Linked DNA regions of Homo sapiens: region 2 is linked to region 1. The links are contacts of gene promoters, found by promoter capture Hi-C in human tissues and cell types (Jung and others, 2019). All regions are on one chromosome and are shown on one strand. Each heading gives the region's core, a stretch centred on a gene start or on the middle of the fragment in contact. The rest is flanking DNA. Distances are from core to core; before and after follow the strand shown. Region 1 holds the start of KCNH2 (potassium voltage-gated channel subfamily H member 2). Region 2 has its middle 62 kb from the start of KCNH2.

Region 1 (5,216 bases), core at 1,673-4,172:
GTTCTTCCTTCCCCAGGGTTTCCCAGGAACCATTGCTCTGTAACCTGTCTCTCCTGTGCCCAGCCGACTGGAACTGCTTCCCAATCCCCTGTGGGTAACCCCAGGCTCTCCTGGGCCTGACTTTGGTGGTGTCTTGCCTGGCCCGCTCCTTGGGGGACCTCTGGCAGAGTGGGCTTCCATTTCTCTTTCTCCTTCCAGGATGTCCTGGCTCCATGCCTTCGGACTGAGCAGGAGCAGAGAGCAGGGTGGGTAGGATGCTTTCTGCAGACTTTTCTCCCTAAATTGTTTCTTTTTGGGAGCTGGGAGGAGCCTGGATATCTCACTGTAGCCTCTCTGTTCCCTCAGTCACAGGCAGGGTGCGGGAGAGCTCTTCCCAGGAATGGTCTCTGAAATGGCTCTTGGAGCTGAGATGGGGGTGGGGCAGATTCTAGAGGCTTAACAGCCCAGCTCTTGGTATTAGGGTTGGGCACTTTTCTCTTTGTCCCAGATCTGGGGGTAGCAGAGGTGGGAAGTTGAAGGCAGTGGGGGCTTCTCCATCAGCTCATCTGAGGCCCAGAAATGTTGCTTTGGGGAGAGCTTGCCCCCTCTCACCGTTTCTCTTCCTCAGCTCAATTCTTGAGTGTGGGGGCGGCTAAGTGGGTCTGCCTTCAGGCTCTACCCTGAGCCTCCAAGGAAGTCAGAAATCTACATTCAGCTTTGACTTCTGAGTATGTGGAGTGGGCTGGGGGGAGAGAGGGAGAGATCTGTCTCTCCTCAGCTTGAGGGAACAGCTCTCTTCTTGCCTCTGTGCACAGAAGGAGGGCTACCCCGTGCCTGGGCTCCTCTCTGTTTGGGAGGATGAAGGGCTCCTCTGACTCCTGTCTTCCCTTTGGGATAAGAGCAGAGGCCTGTCCCAGCAACACGGGTACAGGAGTGGAGGACAGCTGGCCAGCTCAGATGAGTGGCTCCTTCCCTTCAGGGCCTGGCTCTCCCTCTCCCTTGGTCTGGAGAGAGGGGGAGGCTACAGATGTCCCTTTCCCTTCTTGCCCTCCCATGCCCATTCTCAGCTGCTGGCCTTTGCTCACTTTCTCTCCATCCCCTGGCCTGGACAGGAGGACACTTCACTCACACATGAATCATCCTGGATTCATGGTAGGCAACCCAGCAGCCAGGGGTGGCCTTGGGGCGTGGCGGGGGCTGGGCCAGTCGTGGACTAGGTTCTACCCGGAACCCAGATGTGTTGATGCACCTGATGCCAAATGCTACACCAAGGAGGAGCTTGTGCTGTGGAAGGCCCTGGGCCCCCGGGGGGGTGAGTGAGGAAACTGCTGGCAGTGGAGAGGGCCTGAGGAATAACTGCACAGGCAAGAGCCTCTGGACTTTTTTAGCATCAGCTGTGGAGCCACCTCCTTCTCTCCCACTGGCTGCCTCCCTGAGTCACTGCCCACCCACCAGCAAATAAAAAAGAGTGTCATCTGCTGGCCAGTGGCCCCATTTGGCCCCAGTGTTTGCATCTTTGTGCTCCTGGGTGGAAGGTGAGAGTCCGGGTAGGGTGGTCTCACGACGACAGTTTTCTGCGCCTTCCTCCTTCGGGACTCCGATTCCTTCCCTGCCCTTTGTTCTTCCCCTCCCCCCATGATGGTTCTCGCTGGTGACAAGACCCAGCCCCTGCTCCAAGGACAGAGGCAGCTGCAAGCCCTCAGGAGCCCCCACATGGCCCCATCCATCTAGACAGGTCTCTGATCCGGCTGCAGGGAGGGGACCCTCGGCTGTTCAGCTGCGACTCCTCCCTCCCCGCCCGCCCACTCAGCTGTCAACACTCGCCTCCCCGCCCTGGCCTTCCCGGGGCCCTGCCTGACTGCTAAGTCCGAGGACACCGCGCCCGGAGACCCTCACTCAGACGCAAGCAGGCGATGAGCAGGCGGCGGGGCAGACACCCCGCCTGCCCTTGAGCATCCCTAGGCCTCCTTGCCTAAATAAGGGAGCCGCAGCTGGAGCGAGCCAGCTGGCCGGGGGGAGGGGCCTGCGGCTAGGCCAGGGCTTTCCGAGGGGCTGGGCCGTGGCCGCCGCCGCAGGGCCCCGAGCCCGCCGATTGGGCGTGCAAGGCTGGCCCCGGGCTGCCGGGGGAGGGCGGGCCGCTCGCACCCGGGGATCCCCTGGTTGGAACCTCGCGCTCAGGGACCTCTCTTTGATCCTGCAGCTAGGAGGCCGCAACTGCTGTCAGAATGTCCCTCTCTGTGCAGCTCCTATGCAGAGCCCCACAGAGGGCTCTCTCTCTCTCCGTGTGTGTGTGTGTATGTGTGTGTGTGTGTGTGTGTGTGTGTGTGTGTGTATGTGTGTGTGTGTGTGTGTGTGTGTGTGTGTGTGTGTGTTGGGGCAGGGGGCGTGCCCCTTCTAAGTTTAACCCTCCCTTATTTCAGAGCTCTGCTGCTCTGGGGCCTTCAGATTGTCTTGCTTTTCCTATTTCCAGGGTCTCCCTTGACTCCGGGCTCGTCTTCGAGGGTCCAGGCGTTGCCCCGGTCACCCACAGTAGGCACTGAGCGCGTGCTGTGTATACCAAGCCAGTGCTCGGCGTGGTGGGGAACCAGGGCATAAGGACCCGCCGTTTCCCTTCAAATCAGGTTTCTTAGTCGCTAATCTGGGGTGGGGGTGGAATCCCTTCCCCCATCCCGGCCGCCTACAAGCCGGCCATGGCACCTGTCCTCACGGTTTCCCCTGCCTAAGGGTCCCTTCCCCCTCTTCTGGGCGCGCGAGTCCCAGGGGCTCCTTGGCAGAGCGAGGGGCTGGCGTTGGGGGAGCACTCGGCGCGGCTCAGCCAATGGGAAGGTCGGGCGCGCGCGGTGGGGCGGGATGGGGGGGGGAGAGGGCGGTGCTGCGGGCGCGCGGCAGGCGGGAGGGGGCCGGGAGGCGGGGGCCGGAGCCGGAGGGGCGCGCGCCGCATTAACCCTTCCGCGGCCGGGCCGAGCCGCAGGCGCTGCCCGAGCCGCGGGCGCTGGAGCGGCTGTCGGCGCGGTGGCAGGCGGGAGCCAGGAGTCCGGGGCTCGGGCGGGCGGAGCGCAGCGCGGGGACGCGGCGGAGCGGGCCCCGCGGCTCGGCGGGGGCCGGCAGACAGGTGTGCCGGCGGCGGGCGGCTCGCGCTCAGGCGGCTCCAGGCCGGGCCCGGGGTCCGGAGCGGGGAGCCGGGAGCCGAGCGAGGACCCGGCGCCCGCAGTCCAGTCTTGGCCGCGCCCGTGCTCGGCTTGGCCGCGGGGTGCGGGGACCACGGCCCGGCCGGGCCACCCGAAGCCTAGTGCTGGGCCGGGCCGGGCCGGGGTGGGTGGGGGCCCGCCCGGCCCGCCCATGGGCTCAGGATGCCGGTGCGGAGGGGCCACGTCGCGCCGCAGAACACCTTCCTGGACACCATCATCCGCAAGTTTGAGGGCCAGAGTGAGTGGGGGAGGGGGCTGAGCGGGGAGGGGGCTCTGGGGGCGGGCCGAGCTCTTCCGAGTGTGGATGGGGGGGCGTGCCCGGGCCGTGTGCGTCGGCAAGTGCGAGTCAATGGGGCCTGGTGGGCCCCAGGCTTTGGCGAGGGGACGGCGGGGGCAAGGCTTGGTGCACCGGGGCCGTGGGCACCGGGCCAAAGGGTTTGGGGTTGGGGCTTGGGGCGGGAAACTCAGCTCAGGCTTTTGGGATCGGAGTGTGTGTGACACGCTGAGTGTGCAGGGAAGGGATGTGGGATGGAGTGTGCAGGTGTCCCCAACTCTGGGTGCGTGGACGTGGATGGGGCTGTGTGCAAGGGCATAAGAGTGTGTACGACCCAAACCCTGGGATCCCGAGAGTCCAGCGCGCACACTGGTCTTGCCAGATCTTGACTGTGTTGTGCCGGAGGGACTGAAAAGCCGTGGATGCAGGGTCAGCTCATAATCTCTTCTTGTGTGTGCCGTGTGTATATAACCCTGAGCCCATGTGTCACCCGTGAGTTAGACCCTGTATGGGCGGTGGGGAGGTGTCTTTGACAAGGCTGCGAGCTTGTGGGCTCTGTGGAGACAGGGTGTCCTGGGGCTAGAGCTGGGCTTTGAGGGTAAGCAGCTCCCTGTGGTACCCCCAAGTTGTGGGTTTTCTTGCCCTGGAGACTGTCACCTAATTCCCTTATGGGGACCGGGAGTACAGCACCCCTAATGCCTGCCTGGTAGGGAGGCTTCTAGAAGGGTCCCAGATTAGGCAAATGTCCTGGGGGTGGGCAGCATTCATGTGCCTGTCCCTAAGGCTGCATGAGCCACAGTGGGTGTGACTGCCAAGGGCCCTGGGAGTTGGGAGAGGATGACATTCCTTGTCCATGACCCTGTGAGCACAGGACAACGCGTGCTTGTAACGGTGGTTGGGGGAAGGAGGGGTCAGTCCGATGGTCAGTATTGTGTGAAGCGGAGGAACAAGATGATCCTGAGGGGGTGGAGACAATGACACTGGTTGAGGGCCTCCCTGAGAGGTGGGGGTGGGCCCAGGGGGAGGCTGTGGGCGGGCCTACGAGGAGGCTGGGATGGATGTGGGGGGGGGTGCTGGATTCTAGCCCTACCTTTGCCACTGACTGCCATGTGACCTTGAGTGACTCTTCCCTCTTTGGGTCTCAGGTTCCAGGTCTGTGGAGGAGGGGCAGGCTTTCTGTCCCATCCCTGTATTCCAGGATCTCAGTGAAGGGTGTGTGGTGGGGTGGGGCATGCCTTCGAAGAAACTTGCTCTTCTTTCCCCAGCCTGGGAGAGAGGACAAGGGGTGGTTTTTCTTCTATGAAGCTGGGGTGTGTGGCTGGGCCTCTGGACTGCCTTGGACTGTGGCAGAGCTGGAGGCCGAGTTAGGGGGTCTTTTCAGGTGACAGGAAACCCTGACTCCTGGAATTGATGGCTGCCTGGGAGGTCTGGGGGGCCTTGGGAACTGGCCAAAAGATGAACCAGTTCCAAAAGGCAACTTTCTGGGGGCCAGGGGAAGGGAGAATCGAGAAAGGTGGGAGGAGGCCAAGTCCTGATGGCCTGGGCCTATCTCAGGGTGCCCTGCTGCAGCCCAGCTTTGCACGTAGGATTGCCTAGGGCTGCAACCTGAGGGCTATGCTTGCTGGGGAGGGGAGGGGAAGGGAGGGGGAGAATTCCAACTGCTACTGAAAGCCCCAGCATTACAGGCCAAAGTGGCCGGAAACTTCTGTTTATAAAAAGCTCTTATCCCAGGAGCATCTTGCCTGGCACAAGTGAGGCTGCTGCCTGCCTGCTGC
Region 2 (5,161 bases), core at 553-3,052, 61 kb after region 1:
TTGGGAGGCTGAGGCGGGCAGATCACTTCAGATCAGGAGTTTGAGACTAGCCTGACCAACATGGGGAAACCCCGTCTCTACTAAAAATACAAAAATTAGCCGGGTGAGGTGGCGCATGCCTGTAATCCCAGCTACTCCGGAGGCTGAGACAAGAGAATTGCTTGAACCCGGGAGGTGGAGGTCGCAGTGAGCCGAGATCACGCCACTGCACTCTAGCCTGGGTGACAAAGTGAGACTCTGCCTAAAACAAAAAACAAAACAAAACAAAACATCTCTGAGAGGAAAAAAAGCTGAATCACAGAGGGGAAGAAGGTATGTGCAGTGCACATAACCTACAAAAGACTCCTATTCAGAATGTACAGAGTCCTTACAAATCAACATGAAAAAGGCACTGGAATCAATAGAAAAATAAATGAGTAAAAGAACAGAACAAGCACATTGCAAAATAGGACAGCCAAATGGCCAAGAAACATGAAAAAGTGCCTTGTCTCATTAGGGAACTGTGCATGAATTATTGTTTAAAATATTTGTTTTGTGGCTGTGTTTCTTCTTCGTGCATTCCAATTTTGTGGGAGTTGCAGCTCCTCTGCCTTCCTTCATAGCTGTCACTTTCTCTCTTTGTTTGCCTTTCATTTCGCTCGCCCGTCTAATCCGTTTCCCCCTTCTGGGTTCCGAAGTACTTTCTCGTGCTGCTTCCAGTTTTGTCTTCATTTTTGTGATGATTTAAATTTTGATTCTACTCTTTCCTGGGTTTTGCCAGCTTTCTTTTCATATCCTTCTGTTTTCTCACCATCTCTTTCTTGAGCTGTTACTTAAGTTTAAAAAATTCATGGCAAAATATTTGGATATGCTTTTCATCTGTTCATTGCAACACATTTTTGACAAGTGTTTTTTATCTGCCATTTTTCTCTCATTTTTAGTCTATAATATTTTTGTATAGATTGTGTATAGATCTAAATATTATCCTTCTTTGATGCAGACAAGTTTTTCTTGGACCAGATATTTGCAGGAGGTTCGTAAGAGGTAGGGGCCGGGGCCATTCTAGGCTGACACAAATGAACCTGTGAATTATACATATATTTTAAAAAACAGAATTTGTTTAAACTTTTTCTTTTCTCCGCTCAGCAGGGATAGGAAGGTGTAGAGCTGTCTGCAATGCAAAGTCTTTCTTCTGCTGTTGCGTTAGGGTGTGTATTACTTTCATATTTGTAGTAACAAACACTGCAAACTTAGAACAATGCACATTTGGCTTAAAATAACACAACTTTATATCTTACAGTTCTGTAGATCCAAAAGGGGTCATAGTGGGCAAAATGATTTATGACCCCTTTTGGATCTCCAGAACTGTAAGATATAAAGTGGTGTCAAGATGTTTGCAGGGCTATGTTCCTTCTGGTGGTTCTAGGGGAGAATCCACTTCCTTGTCTTTTTCAGTGCCTGGAGGTCAACGACATCCCTTAGCTTATGGCCTGGTCCTCCATCTTCAAATGCATAAACACAGCATCTCCAGATCTCTCTCTTGGACATTCCTGCCTCTCATAAGAACCCTTGTGATTACATTGGGCCCACCTGGAAAATCCAGGCTAATCTCAGCATCTCAAGATCCTTCATTTAATCATACCTGCGAAGTCCCTTTTGGCAAGTAAAGTAGCGTGTTCACAGGTTTTGGAGATTATAATGAGGACATCTTGGCGGGGGCACTCTTCTGCTGCCTCAGGGGTCACAGTCTGGATTAGGATGCTTATTATATGTGCCCTTGGGTCAATGCCTGAGGAAGGGAGGAGGGGAAGCAGGAATGGGCAGAGGCAGTTGTTGGGCTGGGATGCAGCCTGACAGCCTCTGCTCACCCATGAGGAGGTCCGGGGCCGAAAGGAACAAGAGAGTTGTCTGGGGTTGGGCAGATGTGGTGAACTTTGATACTTCTGCTTCCATTAGTCTTTGGATATGGGTTGCACACAAGCTGATGTGACCTGGATGAGCAGTGGTCCTCAGCTGAAGAAGCCCTGGCGAGGCTGACAGCTCGAGGTCGCCCCTGATGGCACTTGCAGAAGGTGGGACAGGTCCTTCCTCAAAGCAGGGTTTGGGTGGCGCATCTCCATGGGTCCTCTGGACAGACTGCTTCCTACAAAAAGCGCTCATCAGTGTGACTGCACCTTCACCCGCCTCTGCTTCTTGGGATCCGATTCGGTCTTGGGAGGCCCCCTGGGGTCTGCCTCCACTGTTGGAAGTGAGGAGTCCCAGGTTTTCTCTCTGGGCTGCACCCTCATCCTCCTGAGCCACCACTGCCAAGGACTCTCTCCTCTCATCCTGCATGCGCAGTCTTCACTCCATTTGGAGAGGATATTGTTCAGAGACCTATCTGTCTCCTAGCTTCATCAGGTATGGCCACTGTGTTTTGGTTTTCCTTTCTGCTCGATGGTCCAGGGCAATTTCCAAGAAGGTAAGGGGAAAGCCATCTCACACCATAGGATCCAAACTGCTCTCTCCCCTTCTTAGAGAATCAACTTCTCTCCACTCTAGGAGGACAGGAGGCACTGTGACCTGCGCTCGCTCCCGCACCCCACCCTCTGCCACTCCACTTCAAAGGCACGCCATCCCTTGCAACACACAGTCCCAACAATCTGTGTGGCTGGTGCCCTCTGGCCTTACCCCCTCTCCTGGATGATCCTGACTTCTCGTCACTCCATTCCTGGGGCACACACATTATGGTGAGCATAACTTGCAGGCTCCCTCCATCTCCACCTCGCTGTAGACATACCTGAACTCCATCCTGTCTTGGCCTTAGCTGCATCAGGCTTCTGAGATCCCAGACTTGGCATTTCCCCACTGGTCAGCACTGCCTGCATCTCCAGCCTGTCCTTCACCTCCCTGATCAGCGTTCTCAGATCCAGGTGTCCTTCCCTCCCTGATTGACCCAGTTCATCCCACTGTTGTTGCTACACTTGAGCCCTCATAACTTTTCAGCTACTTCATGAAATTCTAGCACTTGGACATTAAAATGGGACTTACATGTCCTCTAGGTCAACTTGTATTTGTGGGAAACAGCCTCCAGCTTTCTGTGTGGTGAAGCAAGGGGCCCGGGCGTGCGTGGCCTAGGCCTGGGTGTGTGGTCATGTTTTCTCTAGCTGGAGGATGCTCCTCCAGCTGTCTCTTGGCTGAGGGGCTTGCAGAGTGGACAGGAGCGAGGTATAGAGGAGAGCTTTGAGCATATAAAGAAGTTCTTTTGGGTTGAGTTCTCTAGATGGGGTTTAGGGGAGGAAAAAGAATCCCCAGTCAACAGAATTAATTTGGGACTATCCTCTTTGAAGAAAGGGAGTTAGTATAGAGTGGGGAAAACATTTGCCTTGGAGTTGGATTGACTTGGGTTCAAATATGAGCTCCAACATGTGCTGGCTGTGTGACCTCAGAGTCATTGCTTAAAGGACCTCATTTATTGTACCTGTAAAGTGGTTAGTGACAGGATCTCCCCATATGTGGTCATGCAATTTAAAGGATATGTGAAAAGCTTGGCAAGTGTTTAGTTAGGTTAAGCCATGCTCACTGCTGTAGTAAGCCAACTCCAAAACCTTAACCATGGTTAAGAAATAAACCTCAACCGTGGTTTATTTCTCATTAGGGCAAGGTCCCAGGCAGTGCTCCTCCCTGCCATGACAGAGGTCGAGGGGCTCACATCCTGTGACTCTGCCCTCTCAGCAGGCGGCCTCTGTAGTGGCTGCCATGTGGAGAGTGGCTACCAGGTGGTGACCGAAGAGACACACCAGCTTGGAGCTTTGCTTGGAGCCAGTTTCATGGCCCCATTGAAATGCATGGGAGGCCAGGAAACATGAGGGAGACTGACGGGCTGACTCACGTATCTTAGTTCTTTACTCCACAAACATGACAACATTTTGCATTTTCCTTTGAATGAGAACCCCATAACAATTCCTTTAGCAAATCCCATGGTGGCCTCAGATGTCCTATTAGAAAAGGGGGTTCACACTTCCACACTCAGGTCTGGATTGGGACCAGGAATGTGATGGAGAGGCTGGCAGTAAGGACATTTTAAAAAAAGATGTCTAAATTTCTCAGAAGGAGAAGGGAAACCAGAAAAAGATGGGAGAAATTTAAAACTCTGGGGGATTGAACCTGGAGTGGTGGTGAATGTACTTTCCTTACTGCTGGAATGTTCCTTTGAATCCATGCAAAATGAAAATCCCCTCCACCACAGCCCAGATGGATGGACCCCTGTCCAGGAACAGAGCATGCTTGACTTCGCTGGACAGTGCCTGTTGTAGGCGAAATCTGTCTTCTAGTGCCTTGCATCTGTTGGTCCTGCTTCTCCTTCCAGCTGCTCCATAAGCCCAGCCTCTGACAACGACTCAGATATGTTAGGCAAATGCTCGGGTCCCCTCAACCTTTTCTTCTCTGCGCAAAACAGCCCTTAACACTGCAACCACTCCTGGGAGGATAGAATTTTGAGGTGCTGGCAAGACACAGGGAGAGAGCCCTCACTAGCCCAACATCGCTGGCTTCATGAGTCTGCAGAGCTTAACACTTGGCTGCCCCTGTGGGGACAAAAGAAAGGCCCCCAGGAGAGCTTGGTTACTAGAATCAATGCAAATGGCAGGAGACAGGTTGCCTTCTAGGCCAAAGGTAAATCAGACATGACTTTAATAAAGCTAAATAAATAATGCGAGCAGAGGAAGGGCGACTTGGGGATAGACAACCCACAAAATGGGGAGTCCGAGAGATGGATGTTGACGGTGTCTGCCCAGCACTGTCCGGGGGACATGGAATTTGAGTGTTGTGAGCATCCAGGATGCTGGAGCGCTGATGTCTCGGGCAGGGAGAGTCATCAGGCCATATCATAGCGTTGGGGAGATGCCCTCCAATATTAGCACCTGCCATGGACCAAATTCCATGTTCACAGGCAATGTTTAGTTTAACAATTTTACGTACCAGTTCTCTGATCCTGGGAAAGACAGTGTTCTGGTGGGAAGGTCATTCTGGTGGTTGGAGTGGGAACGAATCCACTGGACCCTGGTTCATCTATCAGTCTATTGCGGGCAGGAACCATTCTCTGCTAGAACGATTCCCCAGGGAGGCTGTGCACCACTGACAGTTGCCACTGTTATCTATTTTCCATTCTTCCCTGTTAGTAGAATCCACATGCCAGCTAAAA

Evidence for each region. The method cuts DNA at HindIII sites, captures the fragments that hold promoters and counts their contacts. A contact is called where the count stands out against the background at its distance.
Region 2: a fragment that was not itself captured here is called in contact with the fragment with the promoter of KCNH2 in region 1 in 1 of the 25 tissues and cell types used here (ovary).

The regions. Positions count from the first base shown.
Region 1 is chr7:150,976,027-150,981,242 of GRCh38, reverse strand. It overlaps KCNH2 (potassium voltage-gated channel subfamily H member 2), which reads left to right and starts at 2,922. Exons shown (of 15, transcript NM_000238.4): 1 at 2,922-3,405. The coding sequence starts at 3,330. LOC124901776 (a long non-coding RNA gene) reads right to left here. Exons shown (of 3, transcript XR_007060592.1): 2 at 4,532-4,707; 3 at 3,888-4,398. RefSeq lists a silencer at 1,905-2,254 and an enhancer at 4,624-5,216. The HindIII fragment of the contact is 28,056 bases long and covers 1-5,216 here.
Region 2 is chr7:150,913,729-150,918,889 of GRCh38, reverse strand. No RefSeq gene overlaps it. Among named protein-coding and RNA genes, the nearest start is that of KCNH2, 62 kb to the left of the region's middle. The HindIII fragment of the contact is 7,230 bases long and covers 1-5,161 here.